2 separate regions of the Homo sapiens genome follow, and region 1 is linked to region 2. Evidence: promoter capture Hi-C in human tissues and cell types (Jung and others, 2019). All regions are on one chromosome and are shown on one strand. The core of a region is centred on a gene start or on the middle of the fragment in contact, and the rest is flanking DNA. Distances in the headings are between cores, read along the strand shown.

Region 1 (6,033 bases), core at 1,582-4,081, 49 kb before region 2:
GTAGTAGGTGATGGCTGTGGCCACCACAGACTCCTAACTCAGACACCAGACCGTATGTCCTTCCTGCTCAAGGTCATCCCAGCTGCTCCTCAATATGCCAGGCAGACCGCATCTCTGGCACCAGCACTTGTTGCCCCCTGTGCCCAGAATTCCACTCTCCCAGACATCCACGGAGCTTGACTCTCATTTCCTTCTAGTATCTACTCAAATAGGAGAAAGCAGGGCTAGAGATGCAAATTTGGGTGTCACCAGCAAACAGATATTGTTTAAAACCATGAGACCAGAGGAGATCACTCGGAGAGTATAGACAGAGGCAAATGGGAGCCTTGGCTGAAGTCCTGTGGCAGCACCCACGTACAGGATGAGGAGGAGGAAGAGGGGGAGGCAGCAACAAGAGGAGTGCCAGTGGGAGACAAGGGAACCAGGTATGGGGCACTCAAGAAGCCAAGAGAAGAGCATGGCTGGAGAAGGATGGCGTGATCAGCACTCCTGTGTAAAAGCAGCAGCTTGAACACTCATGAAAATACCGTGGGCGGTGAGCACAGGGAGAATGGGGGAGGAGATGCAGCAAGGGCACTTTGGAGAGGTCACTAAGGTCGCTGATCCCTGGAGTCGAATGCTGGGTTGGCAGTGAGGAAGCCAAAGGCCTGCCCTATTTTTACCATTGAATCCCCAAAAGGCTGATTAATTGGTGACACCTGGCCCCTCTGGACATGAAGATGGAGGAAAAGGCTGAAGTAATGAGAACTGGAAAAAAGCTGTTTAAGGAATTGTCAGATCCCCAGATCTCCCCAACTCTGTTTAGCCAGATCACTGACTTTCTGCCCTCCCCTGCAGAAAGCCAGAGATTCATTTCAAGAGGGTGAATACAGGATCTGGTTAGGAGACACTGAACTCAGTGGAAAGCAAGGAGTCACACTGAGAACAGGAGAACTACATGAGTGTGGGCACTGCGGATGCTGGGGCAGCCCTATCCCATCCCCCAGCCTCATTCCTCATGCGGTTCCCAGAACGCCAGCCACCATCCCAACAGGAAGCAGAGAGGTTTCCAGTCAAAGGGCCCAGACAGTTGAAGCTGCCAAGCCCCACCTGTGCACTCGGAGCATCCAATCAGCTGTGAAGGGCTCACCCTTCCACACGAGCAGATTGCCAGATGGCTGAGGAAGAAAGGTACAGGAAAGATAAATCCCAAACCAATACAAAATAATCAACTGGAAGACACTGGAACTATACAAGGAGAAGAACACTTCAAAAAAAATCATGAGGGCCGGGCGCGGTGGCTCACGCCTGTAATCCCAGCACTTTGGGAGGCCGAGGCGGGCGGATCACGAGGTCAGGAGATCGAGACCATCCTGGCTAACACAGTGAAACCCCGTCTCTACTAAAAAATACAAAAAATTAGCCGGGCGTGGTGGCGGGCGCCTGTAGTCCCAGCTACGCGGGAGGCTGAGGCAGGAGAATGGCGTGAACCCGGGAGGCGGAGCTTGCAGTGAGCCGAGATCGCGCCGCTGCACTCCAGCCTGGGCGACAGAGCGAGACTCCGTCTCAAAAAAAAAAAAAAAAAAAAAAAAAAAAAAAAAAAAAAATCATGAACACTTTTACAGCCAAGAAATACTATCCAGGAAATGAGATAATGGAGCAGTGCCTACTAACTCTGAGTTACATTGTATGACACTTAGTTGATGTCTACCAGAGAATTGGGGTTTTTTTTGGTGGGAAGAAATCCCACATGTCAGTGACCAGAGGTGAAGTATTGTATAGTGAGTGTGAGTAGAAAATTTGTTTAAAGTTTGGGTGCTTTTTAAAAAATATTTCTTACAACTATATTTAGATGGTAGAAGAAAACAAATCCAGAAAGATTGCACAGCAGATGTGATATTTGAATGTGGAGCTGGAAGTATACCAAGGATTTCACCCAGGTGGACAAAGATAGGGAGAATATTCAAAGCAGAGACAACAATTGATACAAAAAAAAAAGATGAAAGGGGCCAGGCGTGGTGGCCTGTAATCCCAGCACTTTGGGAGGCTGAGGTGGGCAGATCACCTGAGGTCAGGAGTTTGAGACCAGCCTGGCCAATGTGGTGAAACTCCATCTCTACTAAAAATACAAAAATTAGCCAGGTGTGGTGGCGGGCACCTGTAGCCCTAGCTACTCCTCAGGAGGCTGAGGCATGAGAATTGTTTGAACCTGGGAGGTGAAGGTTGCAGTTAGCTGAGATTGCGCCACTGCACTCCATCCTGGGCCACAGAGCGAGACTCTGTCTCAAAAAAAAAAGATGAAAGGGTAAGCGTGGTATGAGATAGCACATCAACCCAAAATGGATTGGCATTCAACACCAAATAATTGATTTTCACTCATGCATCCTCAGGTTGCCTGGGATTGGGCCAACATAGACTGAGTTTGGCAGGCTTGGATCTCAATTGCAGGTTGGATCCAGGAGTATTTCATCCTCTTTGGACCAACAGCTGTCTAAGGCAGGCTCTTTTCATGATGGAGGCAGAAGAACAAGAAAACAAGCACATTTCAAGCCTCTGGACCCACCGCGTCCACTAACATGCCATTGGCCAGCATAATTTACATGGACAAGCTCAACACTAATGGGTTGGATAAGTATATTCCTCACTCACAAAAGCTTAAACTTTATTCCTGAACAATAAACTCTAGCCAGGTGGGGTGGGGAGCACCTGTAGTTCCAGCTACTCAGGAAACTGAGGCAGAAGGATTGCTGGACCCCAGGAGTTTGAGACCAGCTGGGCAACACAGTGAGACTATATCTCAATAAAGAAATAAATAAATAAAACAATAATAAAAGCCAACTCTTTAAAGTGTGTTTGGGGAATAACATGAACATATGTAACTTCTGTTTTTCAGTTAACTTTCTGTATGCATTTCCCTTATTTCCATCCTTCCTTCCTTCCTCCCTCTCTCTCCCTCTTTCTCTTTCTCCCTTTCTCTCTTTCTCTTTCTCTCTTTCTCTTTCTCCCCTTCCTTCCTTCTCTTTCTTTCTTTCGTTCTTTCTTTCTTTCTTGAGATGGAGTCTCACTCTGTTGCCCAGGCTGGAGCGCAATGGTGCGATCTTGGCTCACTGCAACTTCCGCCTCTCGGGTTCAAGCAATTCTCCCATCTCAGCCTCCCCAGTAGCTGGGATTACAGGCACTCACCACCATGCCCAGCTAATTTTTGTATTTTTAGTAGAGACTGGGTTTCACCACACTGGCCAGGCTGGTCTTGAATTCCTCCCAAAGTGCTGGGATTACAAGCATGAGCCACCATGTCTGGCCCCCTTGATTCTTTTATGAGATGAGCATGTGCAGCTACAAAAGGAAACACAGGAGAGGCTCAGGAAAAAACAAAGTCTCTTGTACTCACAGGTCCCAGAGACCGGAGGCATGGCAAGCCATGAAGGGCCACATGGGAGAGACACCAGAGTGGTCAGGAAGCAAAAGACAGGAGGAGAAAGCCGAGGCTAGAGCCTTCATTGGGGTTTCAGTGGGAAAAGCAGAACAGGGCAGGGTAAACAGTTTAGGACTGGTTCGTTTGCATAATTTGGTTGATCTTTGGCCTATAGTAGTGATCTCTAGTTGCCTAGTACCTGGCCCTGGGATGATTAAGGCAGAGGAATATTGCTTCCTGAGCTGCATGGGCCAGATAGGGAAGGTCTGGTTTAGGACTGGTTTGTTTTCATATCAAAGGCACGTTCCTGGCTGGGTCCTTCGTTATCTCTAAGAATTGGCTGGCCCAGGGGGGAACAGTCTCTCTCCAGCTAAAAAGGTTTTTCAGGATCAAAGTATACAGACAACTTAAAAAAAAACAAGAGTAAAAGTTATTTGACCAACATCAGCCATGTGTGGCTAATGAACACTTAAAATGTGACAGGTGTGATTGAGGAATTAAATTTTAGTTTTATTTAAATGTTTTAATGTAAATTTAAAGAGCACATGTGGCTTATAGCTATGGAACATGCAGCTGTGAACACTATAGTTAAAACTGACATTTTGATCTGAGGATTCCTTTTATTTAATCAGTTCTGAAACTATAGTTTTCTACATTTATATATTTGTTCTATTGTGAATTTTAGGATTTATTTTGATGATGTACTTTTTCTTTGTGAAGTTTAGAAATGACCATGGGGGTCATGTGGGCCAAATTAACTCAATTCCTGGACAAAAACTATTTCCCCGACCACCCCAAGCTTCTTGCCAATGTGCGCCCTTGGGACAAGAAAGGCTAGGAGAAGCTGTGGACAAATTAAGATAAACCTGGCAATATCATTAGACAAATAACCCAAAGTGAATCCCTCTTCTGATGGTCAACATCAGATGGTCACACAGAAATGTTATTTTCCTATGAGTAATTTTGCATTATTGTTACATATGATTTCCACTTACAAATGCCACAAATATTATGCAAGTACCTCTCTACTGGGAAGGAATATAACAATTCTAACAAATAAACATAAAAGCAGTGTGTACATAAGAATGCCTCTATACAATTTTTTGAGCATCAAAATCTTAGAAAGTTGAAAAATACCAATGAAATATAGCATTCTTATTCTTTCTCATTTCTTTTATCTGTTCTTTAGAGAAAAAAAGATGGAGCAGAAAGCAAGAAAATTGTCCAACAGAATTATTGCAACTGACTTAGTTTCTTATAAACAAAGAATGCATTGAAAGAGAAAACCTTGCCTCAGCAAAGTATATTACACAATAAGAAAGAAGAATTTCAAAGATAATAGAGATAATTTCTCACAGATGTCTGACCAGAAAGAAATTCTCAACTTTCTAAACTTTTCTATCATAATTTCACATATTTCTCTGGTTCATTTATAAAGGGAAAATAACTTGAGAATATTCCAAGATGAATACATCAGCACTCACATAGGTAACCAGAAACATGGGGTGTTAAATCAATTACAGGAGCAGCTGGGTTCCTTATCCAGATAAGACAGCGAAAAAAGACCAAGAAGCCAGTAGCCGGTGACTTTAAAAATTGTTCGAATATGCTTCCTCCTCACTTTGTCTCTTGAGGTTCTTTGTAAAAGCCAGGGTTTCACAATTAACTTTACAGCAATCAAAAAGCTTTAATCAGTCACTAAAACAAATGCTATTTTCACTTATCAAATTGGTAATAATTAGGAAAAAAGTGATAATATCATGCTGGGATATTCAGAGCACGCTTTTGTGGGAATCTAAATTGGTGCAACCACTTTGGCTGCATGCCTCAAAAGCTTAAAAATATGCCCATCTTTTCTGCACCTTCTACTCCTGACAACTTATTTAACTACAGGGATGTTCTTCCCAGCTATGTGATATACAGCCATTAAATGGCTGAATACTATGCAGCCATTAAAATATTGTTGCAGAATATATTGTGATATGGGGTGGAGGTGGAGCCTAGCTCAAAAATTATGATTGTATTTGGGTAAGGAAAAATTATATGTATACATAAAAGTAATATGAAGGGGATAGACTTATGAATATTTTATAAATATTTTAGATATTTTCTTCATTTTCTTTTATTCTTTTCTTTAGTCTTATCTATATTTTCTAATATGTCTATTTGATATGTATTGCTTTTACAAGAAAAAATAACTTCAATGATCCTATAAAAGGAGGAGAGAGTGGGGAGCAAGTGTTTTAAATACTGCGACATGAGGCTGTGAAAGCTCTCAGAATCAAAATGAAGTCACCTATGTTAAAAATCCCAACAAACAGAGCCAGACGAGACCTTGAAGAGAGGGTTGTCATGTACAAAAACTATTGCAAGACTGCAAAAATCACAACCTTGCACAAAGTCCATCTCAACCTTACGCAAAAAAATACCTCTACAAGGACATCTGCCCAGCAACTGCCTGTCCAACCTCAGACTGGTGCTACCCTCGTTATTGAACCTTGTAGTCAAGGATAATTAACCCAAAACAGTTATGTAACCCTCCTTATTTTTCCTCTAAAAACCCTTGTCTTCCTTTACCTCCCTGAATAGGTACATAGTGTATTATAGTACATGCATTTCCATCGCAATGCCTATTCCCA
Region 2 (6,564 bases), core at 989-3,488:
TTAATTTGGCCTGCTAGGTTATATCCAAACGATCACTGTATTCACCTATAAATGCTCTCAAACTGGTCCAAGGTCTAATCAAAGCTGGAAATTGATCAAATAATGACCCATTCATGCATTCTAGAATTCAGCCATTCCCTGTTGCGTTTTTAGAAACTGGCATAATTTTCTATTATTTACGCGATCTAGAGAACTATGTCATAGACCCCTGCATCATAGAACACCCAGATCTGTGGTCTCCATCTCATTCTTCCTGCTTTCTCAAAGATGATCTACACACAGTTCTATTTCCCAGACTATATAATATAATCCACTTTATGTAACATAGTGTAATTCACTTGGCCCTGGTCTCTCAGTTCTTTTGAAGAAATGAATGTTCTCACACTAATTCCTTGGTCTGTTTGTCGATCTTTACAGGCAGGGAGGGAGGATGCGAGGCAGCATTGGGTCGGCTCCACATTCTCCACATCTGCTTATTGTTTTCTTGCCTTGTTTGCAGCTTCCAGAGCTCCTCCCTGCTTCTGTAGCAATTTCAGTCTTCCCCATTCCTCTGTGCCTTTGTAAACAGCCTTTTGTTCACTAACAAGAGGAATCTGCTGCCACGTCAGCTCTAAACCAACCTCCCACCATTCTCTGGGTAAAGTCCTGCTTAGAAAGGGAATAGGAAGAAGAGGGGTGGAGGGGGTTGGAGATGATTGTGTCTAGTGGGAACAGGCAGGGGGATAGTGCACAGAGTTCACAATGGGACAACGAGCCTGCCGAGGCTGCACTGCCGGCCTGGCTGGGTGACCTTGAGCCTATCTGGGCCTGTGAGCTCACCATGCAAAGGAGCTGGACCACAGAATTCTGAGTCCTTTCTAGCTCTAAACACTGTGGCCCTAAGTATCTATATGTGAAACAAAATTGTCCTGACATTTGTCTCTGGGTACTGAACTATTAGGAGATTTTGATTTTTTCATCTCCATTTTGCAAACAGTCTGTACTAAGATTACACTACTGTGTTTCTGTTTTGTGTGTATTCAGAAGCACAAAAAGTCTGTGGTTCTAGAAAGGAAATAGAAAAGTTCTTAAAAAAAAAAAAGTGGGGAAGTGAAACAAATGTTAAAGTCAGAGGAGAAAGAAAGGCCCAACCGGAGGCCCCAAATCCACCCAGAGCCCAGAAGCCCGGGTTTCCCACCGACCGGCTGCGGTCTTTGTCAGCTCTCTGGCGCTATCTGCTGTCCTTCTCGATAACAACCGTTTAATTTGGTTTGCAAAATTGCTCTGACGCAAATCCACCGTGAACACTGACGGGGTCACATTCAGCATAAAAATCGCATTCTGTTTACAGGAAAATCTGGCCCCATACTTGCTCCCATATTCACTTTTGACTTTGCCTTGCAGTACTAACTGTAACAGGGACACCTGAGCAAGTCCCTTCTGTATAAGGCCCAAAATGGTCACCCAATACCAATGAGTCTCTTGCTTTGGAAAGCCCAGGAATGCACCTCCAGCCCCTTCTGCGCAGCGCTCGGACACCATGTAGAGGAGAAGGCACTCTGCAGAACTCGCCCTCAGCCCGCACCACCTGTCCAGGGGACTGGCTGCGTGTCAATGTGTCTCTGCTCCCGGGGTTCCCGCAGATCTTTAACTTATTGGCCTTTGGGCTAATTCAGTCCTTCAAGCATTCCTCGCCCAACATGCCAGGAAGTCTTCTCACGTGTCTTCCACCCCATACCTACCAGTTCTGTTTTCCCACTACCCGATGAAAGTGTAACCGCCCCCCGGCGCCCCCCCCCCCCACCACCACACACACACCCTGTTGGTCCCATCCTCAGGGCGTGGTGGTCCAGGTGAACGCTTGCCCTCTTTTTGAGCTGAACCTCCCCACAGAGGCTGTCAGCAAAGACTGCTTTGCTGTCCAAGGCCGGCCTTTAGGTACAGGACACTATGCATGTCCAGCGAGGCTTGTTGAAGCCACATCTGTCATAGATATTGATGGGAAAAGCATTTTCCTTCTAACACATCTCATTCCAATTCTAAAAGGCACCTCTGAAGCCTTGCTGAACTTCATCAAGATTTTCACGTGGTTTCCTTAGTAAAGTGTGATGAGAAGGTCCATCCTTCTCAGGATGAAGGAGTGGTCCAGGAAGCCCTGATTGGTCTGCCGGGGAGGGAAGGGCTGCCTTATTTGGAGACCTGCAGGAATGCCACCTCCCCCGGCAGCTCCTATATAGCTGGGCGGACCTGGCTGCCAAGAGGGTGTGCTGGGGGACTGTGCAGCTCGAGGCTCCAGAGGCACACTCCAGAGAGAGCCAAGGTACGTGGGGGGCCACTTCTGTGGTCAGGACTGCTGGTTTCTTATCAAGGCTCGATCCCAGATTGAAAATCATGCAATGATTTCTTTACTCCCACACCTGGGGATGGGTCCCAAGTTCAGGGTAGACTTGCGAGGATACCCAGTCATCACTGGGCTTGCCTTTCTCTAAGTTGGTGCTATAATAAAATGCTACTTTAGGGTTTGTGGGTTGGGATTTTGTTTTGCCTTTAAGCTTCTGCCTATGAAAACTAATCTCTTTCTCAAGAATGCTGTGCTTTTATTTTTTTTATTTGACTCACCTGAAATGATCTATTATGCCATTAATCTTATTTAAGATTTCTCCTTAAAAAAGGAATGATGTGGAGTATGGCCCTATTTAGGAGACTAATGAATATTTGCTTCATGCTTGGATCTCTTTGGAGAAAGTCAGTCTGAGTTCACTGTGCTCAGGAGGCAGAGAGAGTGGGGTGAGGGGGTCCAGATGCTCATAGCCACCCTGGGACAAAGACGAGGCGATGTCTACAAGCAAGGAAAGGTCAGTGAGGCCTCTTTGCAGGCTTCTAGAGATGACTGGATGTGCTTCTAGAGATCACTTCAGCTGTGTTTTGCCTTTTTTTTTTAATATAAGGAGCAATGTGGCATCAGAGTTGAACATTTTATCAGAGGAACATTAGCCACTTTTAGGGAAGCTGCAGCAGGGTGGTGGAGGGTGTGTGAGGGGCGAAACAAGCTCCCTGTCAGCCTCCTCCAGCTCTGGGGCCCCATGGCCTCACAGTAAGTCTTTGCCTAGGAGACAGCTTAGGCAAGCTCCGGTATGGGAACTCCTTCCATTTCCCTAATCCACACAGGCAAAGACCCAGGTGCTAGAATGCCCTGACAGTCGGCCTTGGGAAGTGGATTTCCTTGATGGCTATTGTAGATTCAGGAGCCGAATGTGACAGGCAACCTTAAGGTGTGGGGTGAGGGGCTTTTCCATGACATCAGTGGCAGCCCTTCGGATGTCCCAGGGCCACCTTGACCCGGGACCCTCCTGGTGTTCCCCCAGGCCCTCCTGTCTTCCCTTTCATCTCGTTTTCTCCGAAATTCCTCAAGGGCCCTGCCCTTTGCCCTTTGCCCAGCTCAGGGGGCATCATACCCAGTGAGTGAAAAGCACAGTGTGTGAGCACTGTCTTCTCCTGAAACCCAGATGGGCAGTGGGGCATGGCTAGTGGACACATGCAGTGCAGCATTAGACAGAGCCCAGTGCAGGTCTGCCACCTCCCCGCTGTGCAGCCTTGGGCAAATTACTTAACTTCTCTGAATCCCAGGACAACATTTATAACATGGGGATAATAATGTACCTACTCTATGTGAGAATTAAGTTAGGCAATGTCAGAGAAGAGCTTAACACGGTGGCAGGCATGAAGAAAGTATGCAATAAAAAGCCAGTAGGATAAGCAGATGGTCACACTGTCCCCCAGGGGTGAGATTGGAAAGGATGCCTGGAGCACACTTGACCCCTGGACATAGGGGAGGCAGGGGTCCCTTTGCTACGTTTCCATCTTTCCCTTCCTTCCTCCTCCTCTCTCTCTCATTACTGCAAAGCCCTTTAGGATCAGCAGCCAGTGAATTCCTCAGAATGGATGGCAGAATGCCCCCAAGACAGTGCCAGCTCAGAGCAATAAAGAACAAAGAGGGGAGATTGAAAGTACAATCTAAAGTCGGCACAGTGGCTCGTGCCTGTAATCTCAGCACTTTGGGAGGCTGAGGTGGGAGGATCACTTGAGCCTGGGCAACATAGTGAGACCCCGTTTCTACAACATGTATTTAAAAATTAGCTGGGTGTGGTAGTGTGTGCCTGTAGTCCCAGCTACTCCGGAGGCTGAGGCAAGAGGATTGCTTGAGCCCAGGAGTTCAGGGCTGCAATGAGCTATGATCATGCCACTGCACTCCAGCCTGGGCAACAGAGTGAGATCCTGTCTCTAAAATATGTGTGTGTGTGTGTGTGTGTGTGTGTGTGTGTGTGTATGTGTGTGTGTCTGTACATATACGTATATATATATGTGTGTATATATACATATATGTGTGTATATATGTATATATGTGTGTGTATATACGTGTATATATACATATATATGTGTATATATATACGTGTATACACACACACACACACACACACATATAGTCCATGCCCACCAGCATTTGATTCCAACTCTTCTATTGTATTTTCCTCCCAGGGATTTCTTGATTTGAAAGACTTGGGAGTATCAAAGAAAACCTACATGTATTAAGTCACCACTCCTTTATTTTCCCATGCGTATTCAAAGCCACTATAATTGCCCTTTGCCATTCTTACCTGTCTCGGAAACCGGGACCAGAGCCCTGAGTGAATGTAATCCTAGCAATAGCAAAGGAGCTCGGTGTTTGAGTTAACCCTGCACAACCCAAACATGGGGAAACAATTATGCTTTTGAGACCACATAAATAGCACAAGGATGCGATTCCTTCCTTAAAATCTCCTGCACTTGGGAGGGGGCAGGGGAGCCCAGGCAGGCCTGGTGGGGAGCTGACCCACCGCCGTTTCTCTGGCAGGTTCTGACGCGATGAGGAAGCACCTGAGCTGGTGGTGGCTGGCCACTGTCTGCATGCTGCTCTTCAGCCACCTCTCTGCGGTCCAGACGAGGGGCATCAAGCACAGAATCAAGTGGAACCGGAAGGCCCTGCCCAGCACTGCCCAGATCACTGAGGCCCAGGTGGCTGAGAACCGCCCGGGAGCCTTCATCAAGCAAGGCCGCAAGCTCGACATTGACTTCGGAGCCGAGGGCAACAGGTACTACGAGGCCAACTACTGGCAGTTCCCCGATGGCATCCACTACAACGGCTGCTCTGAGGCTAATGTGACCAAGGAGGCATTTGTCACCGGCTGCATCAATGCCACCCAGGCGGCGAACCAGGGGGAGTTCCAGAAGCCAGACAACAAGCTCCACCAGCAGGTGCTCTGGCGGCTGGTCCAGGAGCTCTGCTCCCTCAAGCATTGCGAGTTTTGGTTGGAGAGGGGCGCAGGACTTCGGGTCACCATGCACCAGCCAGTGCTCCTCTGCCTTCTGGCTTTGATCTGGCTCACGGTGAAATAAGCTTGCCAGGAGGCTGGCAGTACAGAGTGCAGCAGCGAGCAAATCCTGGCAAGTGACCCAGCTCTTCTCCCCCAAACCCACGCGTGTTCTGAAGGTGCCCAGGAGCGGCGATGCACTCGCACTGCAAATGCCGCTCTCACGTATGCGCCCTGGTATGTGCCTGCGTTCTGATAGATGGGGGACTGTGGCTTCTCCGTCACTCCATTCTCAGCCCCTAGCAGAGCGTCTGGCACACTAGATTAGTAGTAAATGCTTGATGAGAAGAACACATCAGGCACTGCGCCACCTGCTTCACAGTACTTCCCAACAACTCTTAGAGGTAGGTGTATTCCCGTTTTACAGATAAGGAAACTGAGGCCCAGAGAGCTGAAGTACTGCACCCAGCATCACCAGCTAGAAAGTGGCAGAGCCAGGATTCAACCCTGGCTTGTCTAACCCCAGGTTTTCTGCTCTGTCCAATTCCAGAGCTGTCTGGTGATCACTTTATGTCTCACAGGGACCCACATCCAAACATGTATCTCTAATGAAATTGTGAAAGCTCCATGTTTAGAAATAAATGAAAACACCTGAGCTGGTGGCTGTGTACTTTGACTGGTACATGGAGGCTATTTTAATCCTTCTAACTAAACTAAAATAGATTAAAGGAATTAAACTAAAATACAAGTAAAGCTAGACAAAGGCCCAGAAATCATACTGTAAGGAAATGTTATTGGAAGCTGATTCCCAGAGCAGACCACATATACAGCAGGATGTGCCTGTGGCATGAAGATTTTCTTTCTCTTTTTTTTTTTTTTTTAGATGGAGTTTTACTCTTGTTGCCCAGGCTGGAGTGCAACGGCATGATTTTGGCTCACTGCAGCCTCTGCCTCCCAGGCTCAAGCACTTTTCCTGTCTCAGCCTTCCGAGTAGCTGGGATTACAGGTGTGTGCCATCATGCCTGACTAATTTTGTATTTTTAGTAGAGACAGGGTTTCACCATGTTGGCCAGGCTGGTCTTGAACTCCTGACCTCAGGTGATCCACCCACCTGGGCCTCCCATAGTGCTGGGATTCAATTTTTTTTTTTTTTTTTTCAAAAGAAGGGTAAGTGCTTGCTGTTCCCATCCCTGAAACATTGCATGTATTTAAGAAAAACAAAATGTTAGTGGCATAT

The links. Contacts are between HindIII fragments. The study calls those that stand out against the background at their distance.
Region 1: a contact is called between a fragment that was not itself captured here and the fragment with the promoter of PRND in region 2, in 3 of the 25 tissues and cell types used here (dorsolateral prefrontal cortex, ovary and spleen).

The regions. Positions count from the first base shown.
Region 1 is chr20:4,670,194-4,676,226 of GRCh38, forward strand. No RefSeq gene overlaps it. Among named protein-coding and RNA genes, the nearest start is that of PRNP, 13 kb to the right of the region's middle. RefSeq lists a cis regulatory region at 3,272-3,956. The HindIII fragment of the contact is 3,609 bases long and covers 1,028-4,636 here.
Region 2 is chr20:4,719,671-4,726,234 of GRCh38, forward strand. PRND (prion like protein doppel) reads left to right here and starts at 2,239. Exons shown (of 2, transcript NM_012409.4): 1 at 2,239-2,299; 2 at 4,871-6,564. The coding sequence starts at 4,882. The coding sequence ends at 5,412. RefSeq lists an enhancer at 942-1,161. The HindIII fragment of the contact is 13,371 bases long and covers 1-3,972 here.